Linked DNA regions of Homo sapiens: regions 2 and 3 are each linked to region 1. The links are contacts of gene promoters, found by promoter capture Hi-C in blood cells and fetal thymus (Javierre and others, 2016). All regions are on one chromosome and are shown on one strand. The core of a region is centred on a gene start or on the middle of the fragment in contact, and the rest is flanking DNA. Distances in the headings are between cores, read along the strand shown. Region 1 has its middle 20 kb from the start of ZNF267. Region 2 holds the start of ITGAD (integrin subunit alpha D). Region 3 holds the start of RUSF1 (RUS family member 1).

Evidence for each region. Contacts are between HindIII fragments. The CHiCAGO score rates a contact against its expected background, and 5 or more counts as called.
Region 2: the fragment with the promoter of ITGAD here is called in contact with a fragment that was not itself captured in region 1 in 1 of 17 cell types (erythroblasts); the score reaches 5.7 in erythroblasts.
Region 3: a contact is called between the fragment with the promoter of RUSF1 here and a fragment that was not itself captured in region 1, in 6 of 17 cell types (M0 macrophages, neutrophils, M2 macrophages and 3 more). The highest score is 7.5, in M0 macrophages.

Annotation. Positions count from the first base shown.
Region 1 is chr16:31,851,974-31,856,038 of GRCh38, forward strand. No RefSeq gene overlaps it. Among named protein-coding and RNA genes, the nearest start is that of ZNF267, 20 kb to the right of the region's middle. The HindIII fragment of the contact is 1,077 bases long and covers 1,148-2,224 here.
Region 2 is chr16:31,391,093-31,395,157 of GRCh38, forward strand. ITGAD (integrin subunit alpha D) reads left to right here and starts at 2,243. Exons shown (of 30, transcript NM_005353.3): 1 at 2,243-2,299; 2 at 3,144-3,249. The coding sequence starts at 2,269. The HindIII fragment of the contact is 1,676 bases long and covers 651-2,326 here.
Region 3 is chr16:31,506,407-31,510,471 of GRCh38, forward strand. It overlaps RUSF1 (RUS family member 1), which reads right to left and starts at 1,985. Exons shown (of 13, transcript NM_022744.4): 1 at 1,668-1,985; 2 at 1,358-1,472. The coding sequence starts at 1,967. It overlaps RUSF1-DT (RUSF1 divergent transcript), which reads left to right and starts at 2,058. Exons shown (of 2, transcript NR_186401.1): 1 at 2,058-2,630; 2 at 2,767-3,160. RefSeq lists enhancers at 971-1,686, 1,687-2,401, 1,966-2,535 and silencers at 1,696-1,755, 1,816-1,865. The HindIII fragment of the contact is 29,640 bases long and covers 1-4,065 here.

The sequences.
Region 1 (4,065 bases), core at 436-2,935:
CATGTTAAAAAATTTTAAAGAAAAAAAGCTATAAAATCAAAAGGAAGGAATTGCAGAAAGTAAAAAGTTTCCTCTTCAAAGTTTCCATTCTTGTTACAGGATAAATAAGTGTTAGAAATAATAGTTTCTTTTAAAGACTAATTTCTTTCAAGCCTCCTTACTTTGTGCTAATAACTCTTTGTTTAAGCCCTATCCTATGTAGCTGTTAAACATGCTCACAGGCACATAGTACATTCTATGTCCTTGTGCCTTAACGGAAATACCTGTCCTGGATGTGCTCACAGGCATGTCCCAGCTCACAGCCTGTCACTTCCTTATTTAGGAATGTTATTACTTTTCTAAGTCCTTTCATAAACAACTTCCTCTTTTCATTTATCTTTCCATTGCTTTTACCTGTTTAAAAAATTTTAAGTTATTAGCCAATCAGGTTTTAATTTAAATTATGAAGTCTGTCTCCAGCCAATAAAAACAGGACACAAGAGCAGGGACAAGCTACATAAAAAATAAAAATTGCTTCCCTCCCTTGTTCAAATGTGCTCTTGCCATTGTTCCATCTGCAAGGAGCACCCTTTCTGCAGAAAGTAAAATTTCCTTGCTAAAAAAACCTTTTTGTCTAAATGCTAATTTTTCCTTACATGACCGAAAAACAAGCATTCTGTTTCTAAATAAACGTCTTACCTATAACATATACCATTACAAAATTACAAATATCCTTTCGAACATCTGTAAATTTATGTGCTCATGATATTAAAATTTATATTTTTATCTGAAAATAGTTATAATTCAGTGAGACACAAGAACAAAATTATGAGAGAGTTATCTACATCATTGAGAAAATCCTCCTGCCACTACCAACGTAAGTCGTGATCACTCACTTTTACTAAAGCTGAGAAACATCCATTTGCCCAGCGGAGTCCTGGAGTGAGTCTGTGTGTGTGGATGGTGGTCCCTGAGACTTGGTTATAAAGAAGGGATACTGTCAGCTCGTCTCCCTCCAGGCCCATAACTGTCATGTCACCTGTAGAAGCAGGACAGCCCTGGCCTCGAGATTATTGGAAAGGGGAGCAACAAAAGGAAAAACTGAACACATTTAATTCCTGGAAAAGATCAGTGTAGGACAGATGGGTTTCAAACTTTAACGTGTGCAAGCTTGTTTTCTTAGGTAATTTTGCCCAGGAGGGTTGTCTGGTCTCAGTTATTGCCAATAAAGTAGAAGCAATAACTATAGTTTCAAACTTTGTTTAATTTCTGTGTTGCTTTACCAAACATCCTTGCTAACTGAAGAAATTTCTGGGGGCCTTCACACATGGTCCCCAGTTGTCCCTACGTTTCAATATTACAGGTAGTCTATGTAAAACTTTTTTGGGAATGAAGAAAATGCCCCCTGCACCAGGCTTACATAGCGCTTACAGTGAAGTTGTTTCTACTTACAGGGATGTTTAACTACACAGTCAGCATGAGAGCATGTGGAATAAAATGATTAACACATTCTTAGCAACTGACAACTTTTATTTGCTTCTGAGACACCACCAACCACACCTATGTTATAACTAGTGCTAACTTTAACCTTGATCATGATTGCCACATTTGGAGTTACACTTTCTTAATCAAACATCATCTGATACTGAAGTGGTGACTTCTCATGCACTTAATCTATAGATTTTCCCCCAAGGCACCAGTTCTGAATATGTTTGAGTTCATGCTGGTGTACCTCTCATGTGCCATATCTGAGGCTCTAACAAATAAACTCTCCAGGCCGGGCACGGTGGCTCATGCCTGCAATCCCAGCCCTTTGGGAGGCCAAGGCAGGCGGATCACTTCAGGTCAGGAGTTTGAGACCAGCTGGCCAATACGGTGAAACCCCGTCTCTACTAAAAACACGGAAATTAGCCAGGCATCATGGCAGGCACCTGGAATCCCAGCTATTCAGGAAGCTGAGGCAGAAGAATCACTCAAACCCAGGAGGCAGAGGTTGCAGTGAGCTGAGATCGGGCCACTGCACTCTAGGCTGGGCAACAGAGCGAGATTCTGTCTCAAAAATTAAAATAAAATAAAATACAAAATAAACTTTCCATTCAGCTGCAGTCAGGACCACTTGATCCCCAGACTTCTACTGTCTTCAGTGACAATTCTCCCTGTCATCTTAAACCCAGCTGCCATCACTATGACGTTGGTGCTCAATCCAGTCAGTGTCCTTAGGTCTTGATTTATTTTCCTTCTCTGAAGCTTTTCAATTACTTCTTTATAAATTATTTTGTCTGATGCTCACAGAAAAAGCCTGCCTAATAAGAACCCTATACCCACAAAAACTAGCTATTAAAAATGAAGGTTAAATAAAAACATTTTATGTAAATAAAAACTGATACAATTTGTTGCTAGCCAACTGACCTTATGAAAAAATGGCAAAAGAAGTTTTTCAGGCTGAAAGCAAGTAAATCCAGACAATAATTTGAATGCATAAGAAAGACAAAGCACACACTAGCAAAACTAATTACATAATTATAAGACAGTGTAAGTGAATTTATTTATTTATTTATTTATTTGCACATGAATAAATTCTTTAGTGGCGATTTCTGAGATTTTGGTGCACCCATCTCCCAGGGGCCTAATAACAGCTCCAGAAGGCCTGCCATCACTGGTGCCCTAGCATGAGCTCCAGAGGTCTGGGACTTCCCCTGCCCTGCCCACAGCCTATGCTCATGTGCATCACTAGGAGGACTTGAGAACAGGCCCACCTCACCTGCCTCTCTCCCACCCTTAGTGGTCAAATATTCCACTTGTGGACCTGAGGACAGCATTGTACAGGTGGTAGCCTCTGGCATGAGTCCACCAGGGTCCTAAAAACAGGCCAAGAAAATGTGCAGCCAGCACTCAAGCATGCTGTCTAAAGGTCTAGGAATCTCCCATGCCATCCACCACTGCTGTCATCTGGGTACTCTTGGGGTCCTAAGGATGGGCCCACCCAGACAACCACCAGCATCCACACTCATGTGTCACCTAAGGCTCTAGGGACTGTCTGATTCAGCCCATTGCAGCCACCACAAACACTGTGAGTGCTGCCTGGAAGCCTGAAGTTGCCTCAACCCCACTACTCTCCTCATCCACACGGTACACACTGCTCAGAGGCCTGAGGACTTGCCCCATTTCCTAGCCCACTGCTGTTACTACAGACATCAGAGCAAGCCTCCTGAAGGCCTGAGAATCAACAGGCTTAGGCACACTAACACCAGTGCCCACATACACTACCCAGCAGCCCAAGGACAGACACCCTCAACCCTTTACTGCTGCCACTGTCACCATGGGGGCTGAAGGACTGGCCTATCTGGTGTTCCATTCCTACCAAAACCTCACCACAGCCTCAACTAGCAAACACAGCCTAAGCAAGGTTATACCTCATAATGAAGGAGAAATAAAGACGTTCCCAGACAAGCAAAAACTGAAGAAATTCATCACCACTAGACAAGCCCTGGAAGATTACCTAGACAGAAAATCAATAATGAAACATCAGATTTAAACTGTACTTTAGACCAGGGGTCCCCAACCGTCGGGTCACAGACCAATACCCACCCCTGGCTTGTTAGGAACCAGGAAGCTCAGCAGGAGGTGAGTGGCAGGTGAGCCAGTGAAGCTGAGCTCTACCTCCTGTCAGATCAGCAGCAGCATTAGATTGTCATAGGAGCTCAAACCCTATTGTGAACTGCACATGCCAGTGATCCAGGCTGTATGCTCCTTATGAGAATCTAATGATAAATGTAATGCACTTAAATTATCCTGAAATCATCCCCCTCCCCTAGTCCTAGGAAAAATTGTCTTCCACGAAACCAGTTCCTGGTGCCAAAAAGGTTAGGCACCGTTGCTTTAGACCAAAGGAACCTAACAGACATCTGCAGAACACTTGATCCAATGACTGCAAAACATACATTCTTCTCAGAAGCACATGGAACAGTCTTCAGGATAGACCCTCTGTTAGGCCAGAAAACGAGTCTTAACAAATGTTTAAAAATTGAAATCATATCAAGTATTTTCTCATACTACAGTGAAATAAAGCCAAAAATCAGTAGCAAA
Region 2 (4,065 bases), core at 993-3,492, 460 kb before region 1:
CAGCACAAGAGGGAGAAGGCTGCCGCTCCACTTTGCCTGGGCAGTCTTTGTAAGGCAGTAGATAAGTCAGCCTCGAAGTTAGCAATCACAGCCCTCGGCTCGGTTTCCTGCAAGGGCATCGTTAATGCATCACAATTAATTTCTTCTGTCCATTAAATGTCAGCTCTCAAGTAAATTGATGTAAAATTTTTGTATAGAAAACTATTTCATATTATTTGCACTTGATGTTTAATTACATTTTAAATGTTTTGTTTGTTTCATTTTGTTTTGTTTTTGAGACAGAGTCTTGCTCTGTTGCCCACGCTGGAATGCAGTGGTGTGATCTTGACTCACTGCAACCTCTGCCTCCTGGGTTTAAGCGATTCTCCTGCCTCAGCTTCCTGAGTAGCTGGGATTACAGGCGTGCACCACCATGCCTGGCTAATCTTTGTATTTTTAGTAGAGATGGGGTTTCACCATGTTGGCCAGGCTGGTCCCGAACTCCTGACCTCAAGCTATACACCTGCCTCAGCCTCCCAAAGTGCTGGAATTACAGACATAAGCCACTGTGCCCAGCCAAATGTTTTAAATAATTGTCACATATATATACAAAATAATTTATGTTATAGGTAGGGATCTTGTTATATTTTAACCTTCAAAGTATATTCCTAAGCTTTTTATTTATTTTTTATTTTTTATTTATTGAGACAGTCTTGCTCTGTCGCCCAGGCTGGAGTGCAGTGGCGCAATCTTGACTCACTGCAAACTCTACCTCCTGGGTTCAAGCGATTCTCCTGCCTCAGCCTCCTGAGTAGCTGGGATTACAGGTGCGCACCACCATGCCCAGCTAATTTTTGTATTTTTAGTAGAGACGGGGTTTCACCATATTGGCCAGAGCTGGTCTCAAACTCCTGACCTCAGGTGATCCATCCACCTCAGCCTCTCAAAGTGCTGGGATTATAGGTGTGAGCCACTGCGCCTGGCCTATTCCTAGCCTTTTATATATAGACCTTTTTCTTTTTCACATTTTAAAGGAACTTTTATGTTTAATCATGGAATATTTCAAACATACAGAAAAATCACAGAAAATAAATAACAACCACTCATTTATCTTCTCCCCAACCCCATGTAATAAATATTAAAATATTGTGTTAAATGCTAAATTTAACACATGCTAAAGGTTCCTGGCTGGATGTGGTGGCTCACGCCTGTAATCCCAGTACTTTGGGAGGAGGAGGTGGGAGGATTGCTTGAGTCCAGGAGCTCGAGACCAGCATGGGCAACATAGTGCGATCTCGTCTCTACAAAAAACAAAAAAATTAGCTGGGCATGGTGGTGTGCATCAGTAATCCCAGTGACTGGGAGGCTGAGGTGGGAGAATTGCTTGAGTCTGGGAATTTGAGGCTGCAGTGAGCCCTGATCATGCCACTGCATTCCAGCATGGGCGACATAGCAAAACTTGTCAAAAAAAAAAAAAGTTTCCTCTCTGCCCCACCATAGACAACCACTCTTCTGATTTCTATCTTCGTAGATGAATTTTGCCCATTCTCTTGTATATGAAAGGAACCAGACATTAGGCATTCTGGTGTCTGGTTTCTTTCACTTAAGATAAAATTGAGTTAACCTGTATTGTTGTACAGAACTGCAGTTTGTTCTTTGTTATTTATTGTAAAGACAGGGTCTGGCTATGTTGCCTAGGCTGGTCTCGAACTGTTGGCCTCAAGCAATCCACCTGCCAAGCTCTGGGACCACAGGCATGAGCCATGGCATCTGATCTGTAGTTTGATCTTATTTCTTGCTGAGTAGTAGCCCATGGCATGACTTTATTATTTTGGGTGTCCATTCTCCTCTGGAGGGGCTCTGCTTTTTGAAACCACACCCTGGCCTAGCTCCCCTTCTCCCTGCCTCTCTGCCGGCTCACATCCACATGCCAAGACCTCTGCAGCCATTCTGCTTCCTGTCCTTCCACTCCTGTGGGACCTCAGAGAGCTACGGGGCTCCCTGGGTACCAACTGGCTCCTGAGGCCTGGGGGAGGGTGGTCTTCTGGGAGAAGGAAGCCAGGTCCCTGCAGGTTGTGGAGGGGGACAGAATGAGGGTTTTTCCCCAGGGTGTTGTTGGCCCCTGCCCCCACTTCTGTTCCATAATTAACCACGCCCCTCCTACCCACTGTGCCCCTCTTCCTGCTGTGTGGAGGCCCTGAATCATTATTTTAACTACCCCCTGGGAGGGTGAGCACCTTCTGTGCTCTGTCCCCAACCTTCCACTTCCCCTCAACGCGCTGCTCAGGGATGACCTTCGGCACTGTGCTTCTTCTGAGTGGTAAGTGGGGCCAGGGTGCTGGGGAGAAGCTTGGAGGAGTTCTGAGGGGACTCCATCTGGGAGGGCAGGCTGGGGGCTGGTGGTCGGCTCCAACCACTCTTATGAGGAGCTGAGGCAGGGGAGTGCTTCATGTGCGAGTGGCCCGGAGTCAGTAGAGTGTGACCTGAATGAAGAGGGGCTCAGGGGCTGTGCTCAGGTGGCGACTAAGCTACCTCTCCAGCTGGCTATGTTGTCCCAGGCTTCCCTGCTCCCACTCATGGAGTCCCTGGTGTGGGTGACAGAGGTCTCCCCAGCCTCCCCCGGGAGTGGAAGGCCACAGAAGCCACCAGGGAGGGGGAAAGGTTGGACATCACCTCCCTGGGCCTGTTTCCCCCAAGTCCTGACTGCACGTAGGGAAGAGGCCCCCTGCTGAAAACTGCATCAGAGTCACATTCACGTGCCATCAAAAATCAGGCTTGGCTGGGTGCGGTGGCTCATGCTTATAATCCCAGCACTTTGGGAGGCCGAGATGGGCGTATCCCCTGAGGTCAGGAGTTTGTGACCAGCCTGGCCAACATGGTGAAACCCCATCTTTACCAAAAATATAAAAATTAGCCGGGCATGGTGGCGTGCACTTGTAATCCCAGCTACTTGGGAAGCTGAGGCAAGAGAATCGCTTGAACCCAGGAGACGGAAGTTGCAGTGAGCTGAGATCGTGCCGTTGCACTCCAGCCTCAGCAACAGAGCGAGACTCCATCTCAAAAAAAAAAAAAAAAAAAAGAAAAAAAAGAAAAAGAGGCTGGGAGGTCCTAGGGATTGGGGCTTCTTTAACTCCCAGCCTCCCCGCCCACCAAATATTCCTCAGTCCTGGCTTCTTATCATGGATTCAACCTGGATGTGGAGGAGCCTACGATCTTCCAGGAGGATGCAGGCGGCTTTGGGCAGAGCGTGGTGCAGTTCGGTGGATCTCGGTAGGCCCCACTCACCCTCCTTCCCCAACCTCCACTACATCAAGTCCTGTGGATGGGTACACGTGGGTTACCCCAGGGAGGTGTCCTGGAGGAAGGCCAGCAGGGGTGAGAAGTCTTCCCTTGGCTCCTTGGAGGCCCTGACATCAGCACCTATTATTCTCAATCCCAGGAAAGGCCACAAAACTCTAGACAAGACCCTACCTTACCTCGGGAGGGAAGCCTTGAACCTGCCTCCCAGGCAGGGCCCACTTCTTGGGGCCAGTATGGTCACACAGGGCCCACACTCATTAACTTTGGAGTTTAATGTTCTGCCCTTGACCTCTTGAAATTCCTGATTATTTTTATTTTTATTTTTACTCCAGCTCTGTTACCCAGGCTGGAGTGCAGTGGTGCAATCACAGCTTACTGCAGCCTCAAACTCTCGGGCACAAGTGATCCTCTCACCTCAGCCTCCTGAATAGCTGGGACCACAGGTGCATGCCATCATGCCTGTTTTTTGTTTTGTTTTGTTTTACTTTTTACAGAGATGGAGTCTTGCTATGTTGTCCAGACTGGCTGAACTCCTGGGCTCAAGCAATCCTCCTGCCTTGGCCTCCCAAAGTGCTGGGATTACAGGTGTGAGCCACCCTGTCTTGCCAATTCTTAAAAATTTTATCTGTGCATTTGTGTTTTGCAAGTAAAGAATGATGGCAGGGCTGGGCACCATGGCTCACGCCTATAATCCCAACGCTTTGGGAGGCTGAGGCGGGCAGATCATCTGAGGCCAGGAGTTTGAGACCAGTTTGGCCAACACAGCAAAACCCCATCTCTACTAAA
Region 3 (4,065 bases), core at 735-3,234, 350 kb before region 1:
ATTCAATCTGTATAGGCAACATGTTGGTGACATCACATGAAAACAAAAACTACTGACCCAAGCTCCAAATGCATTCCAAAAATACGGCCAACAAGCCGGGCGCAGTGGCTCACGCCTATAATCCCAGCACTTTGGGAAGCTGAGGCGAATGGATCACCCGAAGTCAGGAGTTCGAGACCAGCCTGGCCAACATGGTGAAACTCTGTCTCTACTAAAAATACAAAAAATTAGCGGGGCAGGGTGGCACATGCCTGTAATCCCAGCTACTTGGGAAGCTGAGGCAGGAGAATCGCTTGAACCCGGGAGGAGGAGGCTGCAGTGAGCTGAGATTGTGCCACTGCACTCCTGCATCCCAGCCTGGGTGACAGTGAGACTACGAGTCTGGAAAAAAAAAAATAGAGATGGGGGTCTCCCTATGTTGCCCAGGATGCCTCAGCCTCCCAAAGTACGAGGATTAAAGGCGTGAGCCACCGTGCCCGGCCCAGTTTTCTCAGTCTTAATGGTAAAGGTGTAAACAGGAAGCTCCTGTTTTCTCAAAAAAATCCAGAGAGGCTCACAAGGGATGTGGCCAGACTGATGCTACGAATGGAAAGCGCTTTTCCTTAGATCTATTAGGTTGGCTCAAATGTAATTGCGGGTTTTCCATTACCTTTAATGGCAATAACGACAAAGAAACCCCGCAATTACTTTTGCACCAGCCTAATAAATATCCCCTGCGAGCAGTAGTGAAAGACAAAGGACAGTGGCAAAAGCCATGGGGCCTCCTCGTGTAGAACATGTAACAATTTCCCTTTTCTGTTCTATTTCCCTCTCTGGGTGGCATGGTACCAAACTGTATTTTTTTTCCTTAAACAATTTTTTAAAAGCTGTACATATTCAGCAGATAGTCACTCTATTATTTACAGCATCATCTGGTATCCCAGAGCATACACAATACCTTCCATTCTTTCCAGGCTCTCCTCTCTCCTTCTCAGGACCAACTATATCTTTTTTTTCTGGAGCTCACCAATTTCCCCTATCCTGGGCAGCTGGCAGTTTTATTCCATCAATTGCATTCTTATGCAATCTTCCACAAAGAGAATAGGGATAAAGGGGAGGGGACGGGATTTGGGATCCAGATGATTGAGACTCAGAAGTCTGTGTGGGGAATGGAGTGCGGCTGCTAGGCTGGTGAGTGGGATGAGGGTCTTCCAGATGTGGGAAGTAAGACTGGGTTACAAAGCACCACTCTAATCACTGGGGAGACCTGCCTGAATTCTACCTAATGGGGCACGAGTCCATACATATATACACATAAGAGCCCAGCGAAAGCAGGGCTGAAAGCAGCAATACGTGAGGCTCCAGGGGTGCAGCTCACCTTTCACGAGCCAGGTGGCCGTGGCAGCTGAAACAGTGGCTTTTGCGTTCCCCACCCCTATGCCCAGCAAGACTGCCTGGGTGGCTAGGGAGCCGGAGAGGCTGGAAGCAAACGCCTGGAGAAGAAAACAAGTAGGGTGAGAAGCGGGCGTAGGAGCGTGGCGGTCTAAGTGCCTTCATCTGTTCTTGTTCTTGGTGTATGAGGCATGTCAGACCCCCCGCCCCCCGGGCTCCGAGTCTCAGTCACCCGTCCATTATTGGGGAGGGAGGAGTGGCCTGCACTGTCCTCTGCCCCAGACGACCGAGCTGACCTGCACGGAATCCCACAGCTGGTAGGGCAAGTAGTCCGGGCTGACGCTATCAGGGAAGCCCTGAGGCAGGAACACGGCCTGGAGCCCGGAGAGGGGCGGTGAGGGGGCCCCGGAAGCCCCCACTTCGCCCGCATCTCGTCCTTCAGGTTTGACCGTGAAGGCCCTGGAGAGCCCCCACCAGCGCCAGCCCCCGACCTCCCACTGCAGGCTCCCGTCCGCGGCGGCGCGGCAGCCCCGTGCCTCCCCGGAGCCGAACTGCTCGGAACACAGCGGGGTCTCCAAACCCGCGTCGTCAGCCATGCCGAGCTTTTGGATCCCAGCCCCGCCCCTGCCGCACGGTGGACGTGGCAGGCGGCACTTCCGGCTGGGCTACCGCGGCTGCAGAGGGACATCTTTCAAGAACAGGCGCCGGCCTCGGCGTCCGCCGCGCAGTTAGGAAACTGACTGTCGCTCTCTCCGGCCTCGGCGCTGCTTCGGACGCCCCGGCACCGGCCCCCGTTGCTTTGTAGCATTCTGCAGCTGGGCTGCAGGCGCCGTGGGCCTCCGCCAGTTGTGTTCGAGACGCGGTTCGGCCACAGAAGTTTTAGCTTGTGACTTTTGGCAAGTCAGTGGCCCTCTCTGGGCCTCAGGTGCCTTTTTTGCTGTGAGACCAGCGACTGTATTTTTAACCCTGATTTTATCCCTAGATCTACCCAACACATAGTAGGTGCTCAAAAGATATTTATGAGTGAATGAATGCATCATGAGAAGAAATTGGACCAGATGAGGCCCTGTGAAGCTGCTTGGGTCTTTTTTTGTTCTTTTTTTTTTCTCTCTTCTGAGTGTCCCTGGCCTGGACTAGAAATTCTCCATCCTTCGGCCTTCTGCGAGACTGCAGGAACATTACTTTTGAAGGATGCTAAGGAATCCGAGGGATGAAAAAAATCAAGAGATTGCAATGATGTCACAAAACAAGGAAACAAGGCAGGAAGTTCTTGTGTGTTTTTTTGCGGGAGAGAGTCCATGAAATTGGGGGGAGTCCAAAGAGGGAGTGTTTCTGTCCTTGGAACTCACCTTTTCTTCTTTCCATTTCTCCTCTTCTCCTTCCCATCTAGTGCAGCATCTTCACTCCGAAGCAGAAATTTGCCAAAAAAGCATCCTCTTTTTATCAGAAAATAAAATATCCTGGTTTCTTAGCCTGGCATTCTTGGATCCCCACAGTTTGATCCCAACCGACAACTCCTTATTTGAAACTTCAGATTCTCCCAAACCGTCACCTTCCTCGTGGACTTAATCCTGGAAGGCCCTTCTACCCCACTTCGCCTTATCTCACACAAACACAGTCTCTCTCTGACTGAGATAAACTTGAACACTTCTTTTCTTTTCTTTTTTTTTTTCTTTAAATTTCGGGTTTCAAAATACAAATGGCCTAATCACAACATTTCTGTAATGTTGTCTAAATTCAGGTACTGGTTTGAATAGAGGACAAAAATAAAACAAGGTTTGAAGACTAAGTACTTTAAAAACATATTTATTTAAATAGAGGCAGGGCCTCCCTATGTTGCCCAGGCTGCTCTCAAACTCCTGGCCTCAAAAGTGATCCTTGGGCTGGGCGTGGTGGCTCACGCCTGTAATTCCAGCACTTTGGGAAGTCGAGCCAGGTGGATCACTTGAGGTCAGGAGTTTAAGACCAGCCTGGCCAACATGTTGAAACCCCATCTCTACTAAAAATACAAAAATTAGCTGGGCGTGGGGGTGGTGTGGCCATAATCCCAGCTATCCGGGAGGCGGAGGCAAGAAAATCGCTTGAACCGTGCAGTTGTCATTAACTCCGTGTTTGTTATCTCTTTTTTACCAATGGTTTGCCAGTTTCTTCTACAAATACCTGTTGCTACCTATGTGCTCATTGGGATAGTGAGCAAAAACAAACAAGGGTCTTGGTCTTTTGGAACTTATATTAGGGAAGGATATTGATCAAATCATACAAATAAATGCAAAGTTGGAACTATTTCAATTGCTGTAGAGGGGTACATGTTATTTAATATGAGGACTTTTAGAAGGAGAATTGAGCTAATCAGTGGAATCAAGGGAAACTTTTTTTTTTGAGATGGAGTCTCCCTCTGTCACCCAGGCTGGAGTGCAGTGGCACAGTCTTGGCTTACTGCAACCTCCACCTCCTGGGTTCAAGTGATTCACCTGCCTCACCCTCCGGAGTAGCTGGGGTTACAAGCATTCACCACCACACCCAGCTAATTTTTGTATTTTTAGTAGAGACGGGGTTTTGCCATGTTGGCCAGGCTGGTCTTGAACTCCTGGCCTCAACTCATCTGCTTGCCTCGCCTCCCAAAGTGCTGGGATTACAGGCATGAGCCACTGTGCCCGGCCAAGGGAAATTTTTTAACAAAAATTTAAGTTGGGG